Regions from separate parts of the Homo sapiens genome. Here all the other regions are linked to region 1. Evidence: promoter capture Hi-C in 16 types of primary human blood cells and fetal thymus (Javierre and others, 2016). All regions are on one chromosome and are shown on one strand. Each heading gives the region's core, a stretch centred on a gene start or on the middle of the fragment in contact. The rest is flanking DNA. Distances are from core to core; before and after follow the strand shown.

Evidence for each region. Contacts are between HindIII fragments. The CHiCAGO score rates a contact against its expected background, and 5 or more counts as called.
Region 2: a contact is called between a fragment that was not itself captured here and the fragment with the promoter of GSX1 in region 1, in 1 of 17 cell types (naive B cells). The highest score is 5.6, in naive B cells.
Region 3: a fragment that was not itself captured here is called in contact with the fragment with the promoter of GSX1 in region 1 in 1 of 17 cell types (endothelial precursors); the score reaches 5.0 in endothelial precursors.
Region 4: a fragment that was not itself captured here is called in contact with the fragment with the promoter of GSX1 in region 1 in 1 of 17 cell types (erythroblasts); the score reaches 5.8 in erythroblasts.
Region 5: the fragment with the promoter of GTF3A here is called in contact with the fragment with the promoter of GSX1 in region 1 in 3 of 17 cell types (naive CD4 T cells, total B cells and fetal thymus); the score reaches 5.9 in naive CD4 T cells.

The regions. Positions count from the first base shown.
Region 1 is chr13:27,791,138-27,793,892 of GRCh38, reverse strand. GSX1 (GS homeobox 1) reads right to left here and starts at 1,410. Exons shown (of 2, transcript NM_145657.3): 1 at 791-1,410; 2 at 1-327. The coding sequence starts at 1,202. RefSeq lists an enhancer at 680-1,483. The HindIII fragment of the contact is 6,142 bases long and covers 1-2,752 here.
Region 2 is chr13:27,398,508-27,401,211 of GRCh38, reverse strand. No RefSeq gene overlaps it. Among named protein-coding and RNA genes, the nearest start is that of GTF3A, 25 kb to the left of the region's middle. The HindIII fragment of the contact is 1,657 bases long and covers 486-2,142 here.
Region 3 is chr13:27,455,531-27,458,557 of GRCh38, reverse strand. No RefSeq gene overlaps it. Among named protein-coding and RNA genes, the nearest start is that of MTIF3, 6.5 kb to the right of the region's middle. RefSeq lists an enhancer at 2,786-2,905. The HindIII fragment of the contact is 790 bases long and covers 877-1,666 here.
Region 4 is chr13:27,478,837-27,481,812 of GRCh38, reverse strand. No RefSeq gene overlaps it. Among named protein-coding and RNA genes, the nearest start is that of MTIF3, 30 kb to the right of the region's middle. The HindIII fragment of the contact is 3,186 bases long and covers 29-2,976 here.
Region 5 is chr13:27,423,369-27,426,413 of GRCh38, reverse strand. It overlaps GTF3A (general transcription factor IIIA), which reads right to left and starts at 1,795. Exons shown (of 9, transcript NM_002097.3): 1 at 1,476-1,795. The coding sequence starts at 1,676. RefSeq lists enhancers at 121-340, 1,291-1,360 and silencers at 1,451-1,530, 1,631-1,690, 1,701-1,970. The HindIII fragment of the contact is 2,756 bases long and covers 1,511-3,045 here.

The sequences.
Region 1 (2,755 bases), core at 161-2,660:
GCAATTCGTCGTCATCCTCGGAGCACTTGGCTGAGGAGAGCGATGCGCACTTGCAGCCTTGCGGTGCGCTCCCGCCACCACCGGCACCCCCGCCGCCGCCGCCACGATGGTTGCTGCCCTTGCCCTCCTTCTTGTGCTTCACTCGGCGGTTCTGAAACCAGATCTTCACCTGCTTCTCGGACAGATTCAGGTAGGTCGCGATCTCGATGCGACGTAGGCGGGACAGGTACATATTAGAAGCGAACTCGCGCTCCAGCTCTAGCAGCTGCGTGCTGGTGAAAGCCGTGCGCATCCTCTTGCTGCTGGGCAGCTGGTTAGAGCTGCTGTCTGGAGGTGGCAGAGCAGAGAAGGAAGCGATCAGACCTCTGTGCTGTGGACCCAATCCCTTGGTAGGCGGTCGCCAGAATCCTACGACTTTGACCTCTTACCCATCTCTTCGCCCCAACACAATCCACAGCAGAGCTACAGTGAGCGCTCCTTGTCCAGCTCCGAGATCCTGATTCTCCCGGAGTCATGCAGCCCTGGAACCCCTTCCCCTTCATGGAGAGCCTTGGATCCCAGCCCTCACTTACCCCGGCCCACACTCCAGGACCTGGACGTCTGCCCTCATCCGCCTCCTGGCGTTGTGTCCCGGCCCTCTATCCTCACTCCACCCCAAGCGCCCCCCTTAGTCCCCGACATGACCCTCACCGCCCCCAGAAAGCCCAGGGTCCCTCTTCCTCCATCTCTGGCTCTCCATCCTGCTTCGGATCACCTCTGCCCGGTCCCTCTGCGCGGCGGCCCCGCTTACCCACAGAGATGCAGTGGAACTGCCTGGGGTCAGGCAGCGGGTAGGAGGTCTGGTAGAGCGCGGCGGCAGCAGCAGCGGCGGCCGGGCCGTGAGCGACCCCGGGCGACACAGCAGAGTGCTGGCGGCCCAGGGGCGCGTGGCAGTACTGCGAGCCGAAGGGTGGGAAGGAAGCCTTGAGTAGAGGCAGCGCGGGCGGCCCGGGGGGCCCATGCAGCTGCGAGGCGGTGACGCAGAGCGGGCACACGCACAGCAGCCCAGCCTTGCGCGCGTGGCAGGCGCCAGGCGAGAGACCGTGCAGCGCGTGCGGCGGGGGCACAGCGTAGGGGAAGAGCGGCGGCGGGCTGCCCTCGGGCGCCTTCTTCTCGCCCGCCTCGCGCAGCACTAGCGAGTCCACCAGGAAGGAGCGCGGCATGGCCCCGGCGCGCGGTCGCCCCGCAGCCAGCCCGCCCTCTGCGCCCACCGCACCTTTCGGCTCTCCACGCGCTTTCCCTGGCCGCGGTATCCCGCAGCTGCCTCTGCCCAGGAGGCTGAACGCGCGGCTGAGACCTAGGCTGAAACAGTAGCCTCTGCTGCCGTGGGCACCGCCCAAAGAGCGCGGGGTGCTGGCCAGCGCTAGTGGTGCTGAAAGGCGCCGGCGGCGCGGCTTAAATAGGACTATTGCCATGTGATGGACTACGCCAGGAGCGGCCGGGGCCTCTCAATAGGGTTTTTGTGCCTTTTCTCTTGGCATTCACTCTGCACGCTTCCTCATTATTTCACTTGTTAACTAAATGAACTGCATAATGTACTCTATTCTTGTCAACCCCACCCACGCCGTAACAGGCGCCCTCGCCCCCTCCTCTCCCTTTTGCGGGTTTATTTTCTCATTCTCCCGCGATTTAATATTCTTTCCTTTCTCTTTATTTCTTACTCCCCTTTGGCTTTGCATTGGCCATCAGCCCGTTCACCTTACTGATTTTGCACCCCCGCGGCCTCTCTTCTACAGATCCCCATGGGCGCACACCCTCATATCCTCTGTCCACTTGGTCCTGGTCCCCTTCTTTCTATTATCGCCCTTACACCCCAAAAGTATGCTGTCTCCAGTCAGCCCTGTCAGCTCAGTGCCGTGCACCCCCGAACCTCCCTCCAGCCGGTCTCAGATTTTCCACCTGTGGAATCGCTTCTCTCTCTGCGTCGGAAGAAGGAGGACCGGGTTCCCGCGTGAAGGAGGCGTCTGTGGGGAGGGAGGAGAAGGGCTCATTATTCCTTATCCAGCCCTAGACCCATCGCTGTCCCTCGGTTTTCTCTAAGTTTCTCAAATAGTCTTAATTTTGGTGCTGCCTACGACGCCCAGTCTTTGTTCGGTAGATGCTGGCCAACCAGCCCTTTCCTTCAAATGACAGGGCCGTGGATGTAAAAGAGGAAAAACAGTCTCTGAGCGTTACGAACAGAGACAGGGAATGGGGAATGAAAGCCGAGATGGCGCAGATCTAGATCTCGCACCCCAGCACATGTGGCGAGTGCGGACTGTCTGCCCGCGCATCTTGCCCACACCCTGTCTACTGGAGCACACTTCCAGCAGTGCGCTGGGAAACCGCTGCCATCTCTTAGTTTGGAACGGCGCGAAGGGCGGTTGTATTCCTGGCATCGGCTGCCTTTGCCCACCCTGACCCGCCTCCGCTCTCCCCAAGACCCGGCTTCTTCTTCCTGCCGCGTCACTCTTCTTTCTGGTCACACAATGGTTAAACAACTTCAAACGCTCAGAGCTGTGTACACAGCTCCAGCTTTTTAAATCGTTCTCGGGCTCAAAGCTGTTTCGCCCAGGAGCTTTTTCCATACAATGGGAAATCAGCATAAACATTTCTAATTTACAGCCCGGGACTTTTCACAGGAGACGTTTACTTTCGATTTTATTGGAACCAAATCGCTGCAGTCACCTGCTCTGAGCCCTGAATGGAATTGTGAGAAATGGAGGGGGAAGCTTAG
Region 2 (2,704 bases), core at 65-2,564, 390 kb after region 1:
AGATCATAAAACTCAAATTCCAATACCAAAGGACATTTCCAAGGACATGTATACATGATTTATACATTTTATGATACCGATCCAATGACTAAAAATGCTTTTTTCCTCCATGCTAGTAACTGTATGAGTCCTTTTATTGGCCAAATGTGGATTTTTAAAGTTTTTTTTTTTTCATGCTTTTTTTTTTTTGAGACAGGGTCTCGCTCTGTCGTCCAGGCTGGAGTGCAGTGGCTTGATCTTGGCTCACTGCAACCTCCGCCTCCTGGGTTCAAGCAATTCTCCTGCCTCCCCGGTGGCTGGAATTACAGGTATCCACCACCACACTGTGTCCAGAGTTGGAGTTTCTTCCTTCTGGTGGGCTCCTGGTATTGCTGACTTCAAGAATGAAGCTGCAGACGCAGCGAGTGTTACAGATCTTAAAGGTGGCAGGGACCCAAAGAGTGAGCAGCAGCAAGATTTATTGTGAAAAGCCAAAAAACAAAGCTTCCAAAGCATCAAAAGGGACCGGAGCAGGTTGCCGCGGCTGGCGGGGAGGGGAGTGGCCAGCTTTTATGCTCTTATTTGTCCCTGCCCACATCCTGCTGATTGGTCCATTTTACAGAGTGTTGATTGGTTTATTTTACAAACCTCTAGCTAGCCAAAGAGCACTGATTGGTGCGTTTTTACAGAGCACTGATTGGTGCATTTTACAAACCTCTAGGTAGCTACAGAGCAGTGATTAGTGTGTTTTACAATCCTGCCTATGCTGATTGGTGCATTTTACAATCCTCTTGTAAGACGGAAAAGTTCTCCAAGTCCCCACTCAACCCAGGAAGTCCAGCTATCTTCACCTCTCAACACCTGGGTAAGTTTTGTATTTTTAGTAGAGTCGGGGTTTCACCATATTGGCCAGGCTGGTCCTGAACTCCTGACCTCAGGTGATCCACCCGCCTCAGCCTCCCAAAATGCTGGGATTACAGGCATGAGCCACTGTGCCTGGCCCATGTTATCTGATTTTTAATGACAGCGGATCTGAATTTCTTTCAAAAAGGATCCATTCATTTAGAAATAAGACAAAAACATTCCTTCCATCTTTTGCTTCCACTTTTTTGTTGGAATGAGTGAGGGTGCTGGAGGTGGACGGGCCCTGTTTCCTTGCCCTGCTTCCATTAAGGGCTGTTTCTGACCTGTTCCAGGTTCCAATTCCTACCCCAGGTTATTTCAGTAAGGAAATAAAGACTTTGAAAATATTCTTTTCTCAGAGGAGCTCTCATCTGGGATCTCCTTGAGATAAAAATGCCTATATAAATTTGGAAGCCATCTTGAAGTTTTGAGTGCTAAAAATCTGCCCTTTGGAAAATGCTACAGAAAAAATATATTTAAATAAGCACCATCTATTCAATAATATTTAATAATAAGTTGAACAACAACAAACCAACAAACAATTCTTGACTTAAGAAGCCCGAACAAAGTGGGCAGAGGCCTAACTTCCTTTCTTTAAGTCAGGGGAAACGGCAACCTTTTGAGATCCACCAGTTTGGTTTCCAAGAGGGACCTACCTGGAGAAGGAAGAATGAAGACAGCATTGGCAGGAATGGAACTGTTACTCACAGTCTGAATAACATCGACACTGATAGCCTTTGTGTACTTCCAAATAGACTCGTGTCTTTGTGCCCAGATGGTGCCTTGACACAACTGCTTTAAGGAAAAGGTCTTTTAACAGGAAATGCATTTTGGTTTTTGAAATGCTTCTGCATTTCTTGCCGGCTGGGCTTCATTGATGAGTTTTAAATGTTCCTTTGTTTCTAGTAAACCTAGCTCTCAACTTGACCCATTTTGGTAGTGACCAGGGTGCAGGGAGCAATGGACTGATGGATTTTGAGATTTGCCTACACCTCCCAGTGGCTCACTGAATCCTGCTTTCTGGGGTCTGCTTCCTCGGCACCTCCCTACCCATGTGTGTTTTATGGGTATCCTAACAGAACAGTCACTTCTCCCCTGTTTCTGGGGAGGCTGTGAGCCCAGTAAGACAAGACAGGTGAGCATACTTTATCGGGAATATGCTTCAGTCCTTCATCCCTGCACCAGCCCAGGTGGCGGCAGAGTTCTCCAATGGGCCAAGAATATAAAACTGGTTATTTGAACAAGACTCTTTTACAAGCTTAGGCAGGTGTCTCCTGTTGGGCCACAATGAGTACATTTGTCTTAAAAACTGGAAGTCCTGAGACTAGTGGATGAGGAGGATGAGACGTGACCCCTTCCTGGACCCCCTTCCTGAATAAAATGACAGCTCTCGTAGCAGCATTTTGAGGAGACTACCTGTGAATCTAGAATATCATTCATTCAACAAGTTACTGACTAAATAGTGCTTAACCTAAAGTGGAAAATGATTCTCTGAATGTATGCCAAAAATACATATGGGCAAGTGACTAAAATAGTTGAAATAAAAATCTTGTTTAAATAGTCCCATCTATATTTTGGCCAAATTTCAATATCTGAGGATAAAGTTATATGTTATAGCAACACCAGCCTAAATTAATAAAAACACAGGAAAAAACTTTAACAGAAACTGGACATTTCTGTCACATTTGCCCAATCCAGAAATGTGGGGCAATGTAGCTGAGATGTCACCTACAGGAGCTGGCATTGACAGCATCTCCTAGGACATGAGTCATGGGTTCAGCCAAACGTGTTTCCACTTTTTGGTCACATGGCTCCCCACTAT
Region 3 (3,027 bases), core at 22-2,521, 340 kb after region 1:
CATTCAAGAAATTCAGAGGTAATGAGCCTCTGGCTGGTGTGATGTGCCATGGTGTGAGCCCCCAGGCGCCTTCCATCTCTCTGCACTCCTGTGCAGGATTTCCATTCCATGATCCCTTATAAAAAGCAAATTCAAAGACCATGATGGGATGCTCCAGGATGACTTCGAAGCTCCGCTGTTGCGTCTGCTTTCCAGCCAGCAGAAAGGAGGAAGAGGGGAAGAGGACTCCCTGGAAGCTGCACATACCATGCCTGTTTATTTAAGGTGACCATATAATATGTCATCTAAACTGAAATCCTTGTGTGGATAACAGGCATAAAGTAGGATTTACCATTATCTGCCTCATATAAATTGCTGGCCAGAGCTTGGTCCCATGATCACACCTTTCTGTAAGAAAGGCTGAACATACTGTTTTTATTCTGGGCAGCCATGTGTGCATAAAACCTGGGAAAGAGGAAGATGGCTATTGGACTAGGATCTCTGCCACAAGTACCCTTTGACACCCCCCCAAGCCCTCTGACAACACTAATTTCCCAGAGCAAATTCGCAAGCTGTCATAGTCTGTGAACTAGTTTCCTATAGGCCAGGCTTCTATCCCAGTCTCATCACAATGTACAAGAGGAGGAGGTGGGACACAGGACATTTAGGTGCAAGGTGCCCCTTTCAGAGGCTGTGTGCAGGAACAGAGACTCTTAGAAAAAGGCCTGAGTGTTGTAGTGAAATTGACTTGTTTCACTACAACAGCTAAAGATCTGTTGCAGACAGCAATCAATACTAGAGTGGAAAATCACAATCCAATAGGGCAGGCAGGCCGTGGAAAACCACCAAAGTTTTGTTTTTTGTTTTTTTTTTCAAGGAGATAGTATGCATGAAGCTTTACTAAGACAAAGTTATCCTGGCAGTGGCGTGGGGGCTGATTTGGATCAAGGCAAGATGGAAAGCTGGAAGACTCTTTGGGCAATACCTGTATCAGGCCAGGTGAGACTGAATTTGACTTTGAGTAGAACGTTAGAAGGGGAGGAGAACTATTAAAACTGGGTAGGCAGTTATAGCAACAAGAAGGGCCAGATGACAGCCTAATGGCAAGGGAGGGGTAGGAAAATCTATAAAAAGCAGAATTTCAAATTCAGAAACCATGATGGTTTGGCCATGTAGTTAGTGGCACTTAATACACGTATGAAGTGTTGTATGTCACCATATCATAATGTACAATCATGATACTCCCAGTTCTTTTTTTTTTTTTTTTTTTTGAGATGGAGTTTCGCTCTGTTGCCCAGGCTGGAGTGCAGTGGCACAATCTCGGCTCACCGCAACCTCCGCCTCCCAGGTTCATGCCATTCTCCTGCCTCAGCCTCCTGAGTAGCTGGGGCTACAGGCATGCGCCACCAGGTCTGGCTAATTTTTTGGTATTTTTAGTAGAGATGGGGTTTCACCATGTTGGTCAGGCTGGGCTTGAACTTCTGACCTCAAATGATCTGCCTGCCTCGGCCTCTCAAATTGCTGGGATTACAGGCATTGAGCCATCATGCCTGGACTGATACTCCTAGTTCTTAAAAAATATCATACCATACTTCAGAAAGCAAGAATGTTTGTAATACATTATATAAAATACTTTCATTCATAATGGTAAAAATATAGAAGTTTGTATTGATTTGAGAGGTAAGCTTAGGGTATCTGGAAGATTGCCTTATATAAAACATCTTATTTCCCAAATAATACTTAAATGAGTCCTCACCATACCTGAAACAAACACATTTTCAAATGCAGATTATAGTTCAGCACTTAGATGTGTAGATTACATTTTCCTTGCTGACCGTCAGGTAGAAACATGGCTCTGAAAACCCAAGTTCAGCATTTGAAAATCTCAGCTAAATAAATGATTAAACTCATTCAAAAGCTAAGCCTCGTATTTATCAGAGAAATGCAGCTGAAAAACACATAAGGCCTTAGTATGATGCGCGACACTGAGTATCAGTCCTAGGTAATCATACATTTCCAGTTGAAGCGCTAGAATTTACATGACTCTCTTTTGAAAGCCCAATTTCCGTAACAGTTCAGTTCTTGAACAGAAACTGCAGAGTAACAGAATTTTAAGAGCGGGCATAAAGGACATACGCAGAAATCTATGGCTATCTTTCTTTGCTTACATAGAAATGCAATAAACAACTAGTCCTGCCCAGTATTATGTTCTAAATTTGAAGAAATGCACCTACAGAGAAGGCCGCTTTGATAATTTTGAATAACTGGGAAAAGTTTACTAGGATGGCCGAGAGAAAAATTCACACAAAGAATCTTCTAGAAGTTGGAGCTCTGCATCTGACTGCTGGAGCGTTCCTCCATTTCCAATAGAGGTTTTTTTTTCACAGATTATTTTTGACTTAGCCAAGCAGGGAGCCTATTTCAAAGCTCCCAATTTGGAAATCATGGAAGCTTTATGAAGTTTTCCACCTGCATCTCTTTTTAGGAACACAGTTCTTTATTCTCTAAGGGATGAAAACCTTTAGCATATAAAAACTTTGTTAAGCTGTCACTATCAATAGGGGGAAAAAAATAACAGTGGACAAAGAAGAAACAAATTGCATCTTCGAATAAGTTTTCTTGAAGCTCTTGTTAAAAGCTATAACCTCTGATGTTAACTAAATTTAACCCATTCTGACCCTCGTGGCGGCCCTTAACCTCTTCTTTCTTCTGTTTCCTGTGGCTGCTGGAGAGAACTAGCCCAGTTATTGGAAAAGCGTTCTCTGTAGCACACAAAGGCCCAGCCTTCCTGCTACCCCATCAGGAGGCCCCGAGTCGACCGAGGGGTCAGCACCTGTGCCGAGAAGCAGGTGACAGTGAACTGCCTGCATCCTTCTTGGGCAAGTTTGTAAGAGTGTCTACCCTTCAAATATCACACTGCAGTTTCAGGCATTCAAGCCACTGAAGTTTAGATTTTCTTTGTGAATGCAGACTTTACACAAATTAATCTATTGCTGTTCAACTGACTGTAAAATTAGTAGATTTACTGTTGCAAAAAAAAAAAAAAAG
Region 4 (2,976 bases), core at 372-2,871, 310 kb after region 1:
ACTTTCCGCTCAAAGGGCCTGGGAAGCTTCAGCAATTAATTTCAAAAGAATATAGGCTGGGCACGGTGGAGTCACGCCTGTAATCCCAGCACTTTGGGAGGCTGAGGTGGATGGATCCCTTGAGGTCAGGAGTTCGAGACCAGCCTGGCCAACATGGGGAAACCCCGTTTCTACTAAAAATACAAAAAACTAGCCGAGCGTGGCGGTGCATGCCTGTAGTCCCAGCCACTCAGGAGGCTGAGGTAGGAGAATTGCTTGAACCTGGGAGGTGGTGGTTGCAGTGACCCAAGGTCGTGCCACTGCACCCCAGCCAGGGCGACAGGGCAAGACTCTGTCTCAAAAACAAAACAAAACAGGAAACAAAAAGACAAGTTGGTGCAAAAGTAATTGCGGCTTTAATAGCAGAGGTATGACCATATTTTTACACTGTGTAGAGCAAGTCTTACAATCTACATTTAAATTTTGAGCAGCCATTCGATGACCTGCTATAAACCTACCAATATAATGTTTTAGAATAATACTTACTAATATACAATATATAACATAATGTTATTTTTTAAAGCAGAATTTAAAACTATACATATGTATGATCCCTTTGTATTACATTTACCTATCAAAAATAGGACCATCTGAGGAACTGGAAATAAATGTAAACATGAGGCTAAATGAGGTTTATGAGAGATAAACAGATTATCTCTCATCTGTTTATCTCTCGTTGTCAGGTATGGGTGGGTTTATTTTGTCCTACTCCGTTTGCCCCAGGTAGCCTTTTTTTCTATCATGACTACAACTTCAATGCTGAGGGAGCCCCCAAATGCCCCAAGTTATCTTCACAGTTGAGGGTGGAGGTGTGGGTGGGAGGAGGCCTCCCTCCTGTTTCATTTCTTTAATTCCTGCCTTGGCTCATAAAATAGGATCTTCTATGTACATTTGTACCACTCAGGGAAATATAAAGGGAGCTTTGGATGCCTCACCTCTTTTTTCACTCCTTGTCCTAATCTGTTTTCTGTTGCTTATAACAGAATACCTGAAGCTGGGTAATTTATAAAGAAAAAAAATTTCTTTTTTACAGTCATGAAGGTTTAGAAGGTCAAGGTCGAGGGGCTGCATCTGGTGAGGGCCTTCCTGCTGGTGGGGATTCTCTGCAGAATCCCCAGGCAGTGCAGGGCATCACATGTGAGGGGCTGAGCAAGCTCACATGCTAGTTCAGGTCTCTCTTCCACTTCCTGTAAAGCAGTCAGTCCTATTATCATAACTCATTAATTCACTAGTCCACGAATAGATTAATCCATTCATGAGGGTAGAGCCCTCTCATGATCCAGTCATCTCGTGAAGGCCCCACCTCTCAATACTGCCCCTTTGAGGATTAAATTTCAACATGAATTTTGGATGGGATGGACATTCAAAGCATAGCAGTCCCCTACAAGGGAGAGATAGTAATCTAATTAGCAAGACCTTCTGTCTATTGGACCACAGTGGCAGAGGTAAGATCACTGTGCCCAAAAAGCAACTCCAGCCCCAGCCCTCCTCTCCTATTCCTTGGGTCTATATGCTCTTGGGGACGCCCCTCCTGAGTTAGAGGATTTCCCCTTCCTGCTTCTCGGCCTGCTGACATTCAGGACTTTCAGTTGGTGACTTTGGGAAAGGGAGAAGAAAGCCCCTACCTTGCCCAGGGGCAGACTAGTTTTCATATGAGCTTCAGTTATAAAGCTGATCCTCTCTGGCCCCTGAAGTTGTTCTCAGTTTGGTGGAACTTGGAAGCAAGGGCTGAGAGGGACTGCCATTCTGAAACTTCAGTTCCCTCATTTATGAAAATGACTACGAGGTCGTTTTTAACTAATGTAATATTTTCATCTTTGTGATCTGGCACAAAGATGATATAGACTAGGAAAAAATTACCTGGCATGATTCAAGTGCATCCTGCTAACAGGCAGGGGAGTAGGGTGGGAGGGAAAGGGACAAGCTGGCAGCTCCCAGGCTCTTTGACCCAATGATAGGTGGTGTCCAGTCTGTAGCTTCCCTGCCCTCAGACCTGTTACTCCTCCTTCCCCTGCCCTGCTTGGTATCACAGTGGGATTCAGGGGCAGCTGCTGCCAGCTGGGTTTGGCATGGGAGGTGCTGGTAGAAGACGAGAGGAAGGAAGGGAGAAACCAGGACATTCCTTCCCTCCCTCTGTGGTTTCTTTAGCCGTGGGTTTACCAGAAACGATCAGTCCAAGTGCATGGAGTGGCTTCCTGCTGGTACTAATCTCTCAGTGGCTTCATGGTCCCTGTTGGCCTCTTAGCTCTTCCTTCATTTATGAAGCCAATTCTTAAATTTATTTTCCTCATTTTAAATATTTGGAGATATTTTCATTTTCCTGGTTGGACCTTGACTGCTAATATCTGCTATGATCTGAATGTGTCCCTCAAAATCCATATGTTGGAAACTTAATCTCGATGCAACAGTGTTGGGAGGTGTTTGGGTCACAAGGGCTCTGCTCTTTTGAATAGATTAATACTGTTTTAAAAGGGCTTGACAGCAGAAGTTGGATTCTTTTTCACTCTTCCGTCTTCTGCCACGTGAGGACTCAGCAAGAAGGCCCTTGCCAGATGACAGTGTCTTGATCTTGGACTACTCAGCCTCCAGAGCTGTGAGAAAAAAGTTTATGTTCTTAAGTATTCTGGTATAGCAGCACAAAATAGACTAAGACAGTATTAGTTTGATTATGGCCTTAAAGCCTGGGCATGGAGGTATTCCATCTGCTGGATTGAGGGCTGCTCAGGGCTGAGTGTCAGAACTAGGAGATGGCAGAAGAAGAGGCTGTGTGTATGTGTGTGTCCCAGATAAACACCAGTAAGAAAGCCATGGCATTGGTAAGATCATCCTGCATGGCCAAGCTCCTCTCCTCTTCCATGTCACCACTCTATCTTTCCCTCAACCTGGAATATTAATGTCATGTTCTATTTCTCCAATGCCTTGCTCTAAGCTAGCTGT
Region 5 (3,045 bases), core at 546-3,045, 370 kb after region 1:
AGGGAGGCACCGAGGCCTCCATGAGAGTACTAGGAGCAAAACAAGCAAACAGGAACACAGTGAGCTACATACCACCAGGGGCGGAGCCACAGAACCTTGCACAGCGGCAGGCGTGGAGTAGGCTCAATAAACATTTGTCAAATTAATCTGCATGAGAGATCTGGGACAACAAAGATGACTCCAAGTTTTTCAACCTGTATTAAGGAAACTGGTAGCGCCAGTATCCAAAATACAGCACACCGGTCTAAAAGGAAAGGCAAGCTCTTACGTGGATCTACTGGTAATACAGAGCCCAGAATTTAGAGGCTAGAACGGGCAAGAGGAAGGGCAGAGGGGCAAAGCATAAAGGATGTTATGAGTCATGCCGGTGGCTATGTAAGACCGCAAGAGGGAGCTGGGCGGGGTGGAACATGCAGAGGGCAGAAGAGGATCCAACGAAAAGGGCAGACGAGGAAGAGGAAAAGAACCAGAGAAGGTCTCAAGGAAGAAGCGGTCGGCCTTCCAGTGCTGGAGAGGTTAAGGAATGAGGCCCCGGAGGACACCTGGAGAAGGTGGCCCATAAATTAGAGGAGGTGCAAGGGGCAAAGGTATGGACTGCAGCCCAGTGGTTTAAGAAATTAAGGGCTTTAAGCTGAGGCAGTGTGAAGCCTAGCTCTGCCAAAAACTGGGAAGCTGGGCAGATTCCTTGACCTCCATGACCCTCGTTTTCCTCACTTGTGTGTGACATGGGCTGCCACGTCATATCATGGTATCTGACATTCTCCTGCCCTCAAAATAAAATCCAAACTCCTAATGGGCCTACTTCTCAGACCTCATATGGTGATCTCCGCACCCAAACACACCCACCTGCCTCCCACCCCAAGGGTCACAGGCTCCCTTTGTGTTCTCTCTACCTAGCACAAATGTCTGCATGGCTAGATCCTTCCTTCTTACACGGCTCACACAGAGAGGCCTTTCCTGACCACAACACTGCATGTCATTCCCACCTATCCTGTGGTCGGCTCGACCCAGGAACAAAGGTCCATGGCAGCAGAAACCTTGGGTTTGCCTGTTTTGCTCACTGCTCTCTCCAGTGTGGAGTTACGAAGAAATGAGCACATGCTGCTTTCACGACCCCTGGTACATGTAACCCATCTTCTGTACCAGCTCCAGGGGCCAGTGTTTGGCAGGTGTCTAGTAGCGGTGGGCCCCCTCAAACCTCACACTTATTTGCAGATTACGGGAGGCACTTGGCTGGCCGAGACTCACGATCAATGACTGCTTAGTAAATCCCGAGCCCCTGCCATGGATATCAAGGTCGCAGAACGAAGGTCCTACAACTTCCTGTCTACTTCCTCAGCTCCTTCCCCAAGTCCTGGATGTCAAAGCTGAACGCGCTGCACAGCGGGGCCTGCGGCCCTGGCCACGACTGCAGTGGCTACCCCGGGGCCACGCGCCATCCCTAGGCCCAGGGTTGGCAGCCTCGCCCCCCTCACCTCCCCCGTGTGCTTGCACAGGTGCGCGTCAAGCTTCCAGGCTTTGCTGTAATTGGCGCTGCAGTCAGGGAAGGAGCAGATGAACCTCCTGGGAAGCGCGGGGCGCGGCGGGGTCGGAGCTGAGCTCTCGCCGGCTGCAATGAACGCGTCGGCGATGGTCAAGGACGACACCGACTCGGCGACCACGGCCGGCGGATCCAGGGCGCCGGCGCCTCCAAGCCCAGGGCCAGGCGCGCTGCCACGTGCCGAGACACGTGCCGGGAACCGGCGCGCCCGGCCCACGGCTCCCTGCTGAACCTTCGCGCGACGCCGGCACACTTCCGGGAGCGCGCGCGGTCACCAGGCACCGCCCCGCGTCGGCGCCGCTGCTGCGCATGCTCCGGGAGATCGCGCATGCGCCAGGAGGCCCCGCCGCGGCTCGCGGCCCGTGCCCTGTCAGCCCTGGATGAGAGGCGGGGGTTTCTGCGTCCTCGGCAGAAGGCTGCTGCGTTTCACAGGCAACTCAAATCCCGAGGCACTGCTTAAATGGGGCTTGTTTCCCGTCCTCCAGTACACTCTGGAAAGCACTAGCCTTACATAATTTAAGTTAGCCTGTTGCCACATTACTAGTGTGACCTGTGTGGTTTCGTTTCTTTGCGTGCTTTACGTGCTTCTGCTGCAAGCCCCAGTTCAGAGGTTCCTAAGCTCAGATTCACGTGGAGAGCTTTACAAAATCCCGAAGCCTAGAGGATACTTGGACCACTTAAATCACAATTTCTGGGGGTAGGAAACAGGCATCAGTATTTTTGGAAACTTCCTAGGTGATTTCAATGCGCAGAAAAGTTTGGGAACCACTATCCTGGCACAGTAGTGCGCACCTGTAGTCCCAGGTACGCGGGCGAATCGCTTGAGCCCAGAGTGAGACCCCGAGCTCTAAAAGAATAAATACAGATGTCTCCCCATCCTACCCTTCCCCACCCCGGCAAACTGACCAGGTGGTTGGAAAAAAAAAAAAAAAAAAAGGAAAAGTTTGGGAACACTGCCCTAGAGCCTTGATGACCTACTTGAAACAAATCTCCAGGTGATTCAGTGCATATCAAAACCTGAGAAGCACTTTTGAGAGGCCTGAATGAATATGAGTATCTTAGTTTATGAGGACCACATGCCTAAAAAATGTCCTTGGATACAGATAACTGGCAGGATGACTTGGGGGATGTTCGCCAGATCCATATTTTTCACATCCTGCATTATTCCGAATCATTAAGCCCTTGTCGGAATGTGATGAACAGGTCCCTGCACAGCAGTGCAGTTCTGGAAACAAGCCAGGGCTTAACATCAGTGCTTATGAACTGAGTATTCCAGTTCATAAACACTCCTTTGCCTCAGTCTGCTCATCTTGAAAGTGGGAAAGTTGATAACGCCTGTGTCATCCTCCGTCTCAAGATAACGGGGCTGTGAGAGTGTCTATGCCTTGGGTCCACCTGTTGCTTTCTTCATTTGCCACTCTAGCCCCTGTCCATGGATGGGAGAATTCTACACTCATCCCTCCCACAACTCCGGAATTCTAAAATGGTTTCTCTTGCGCCAGTTC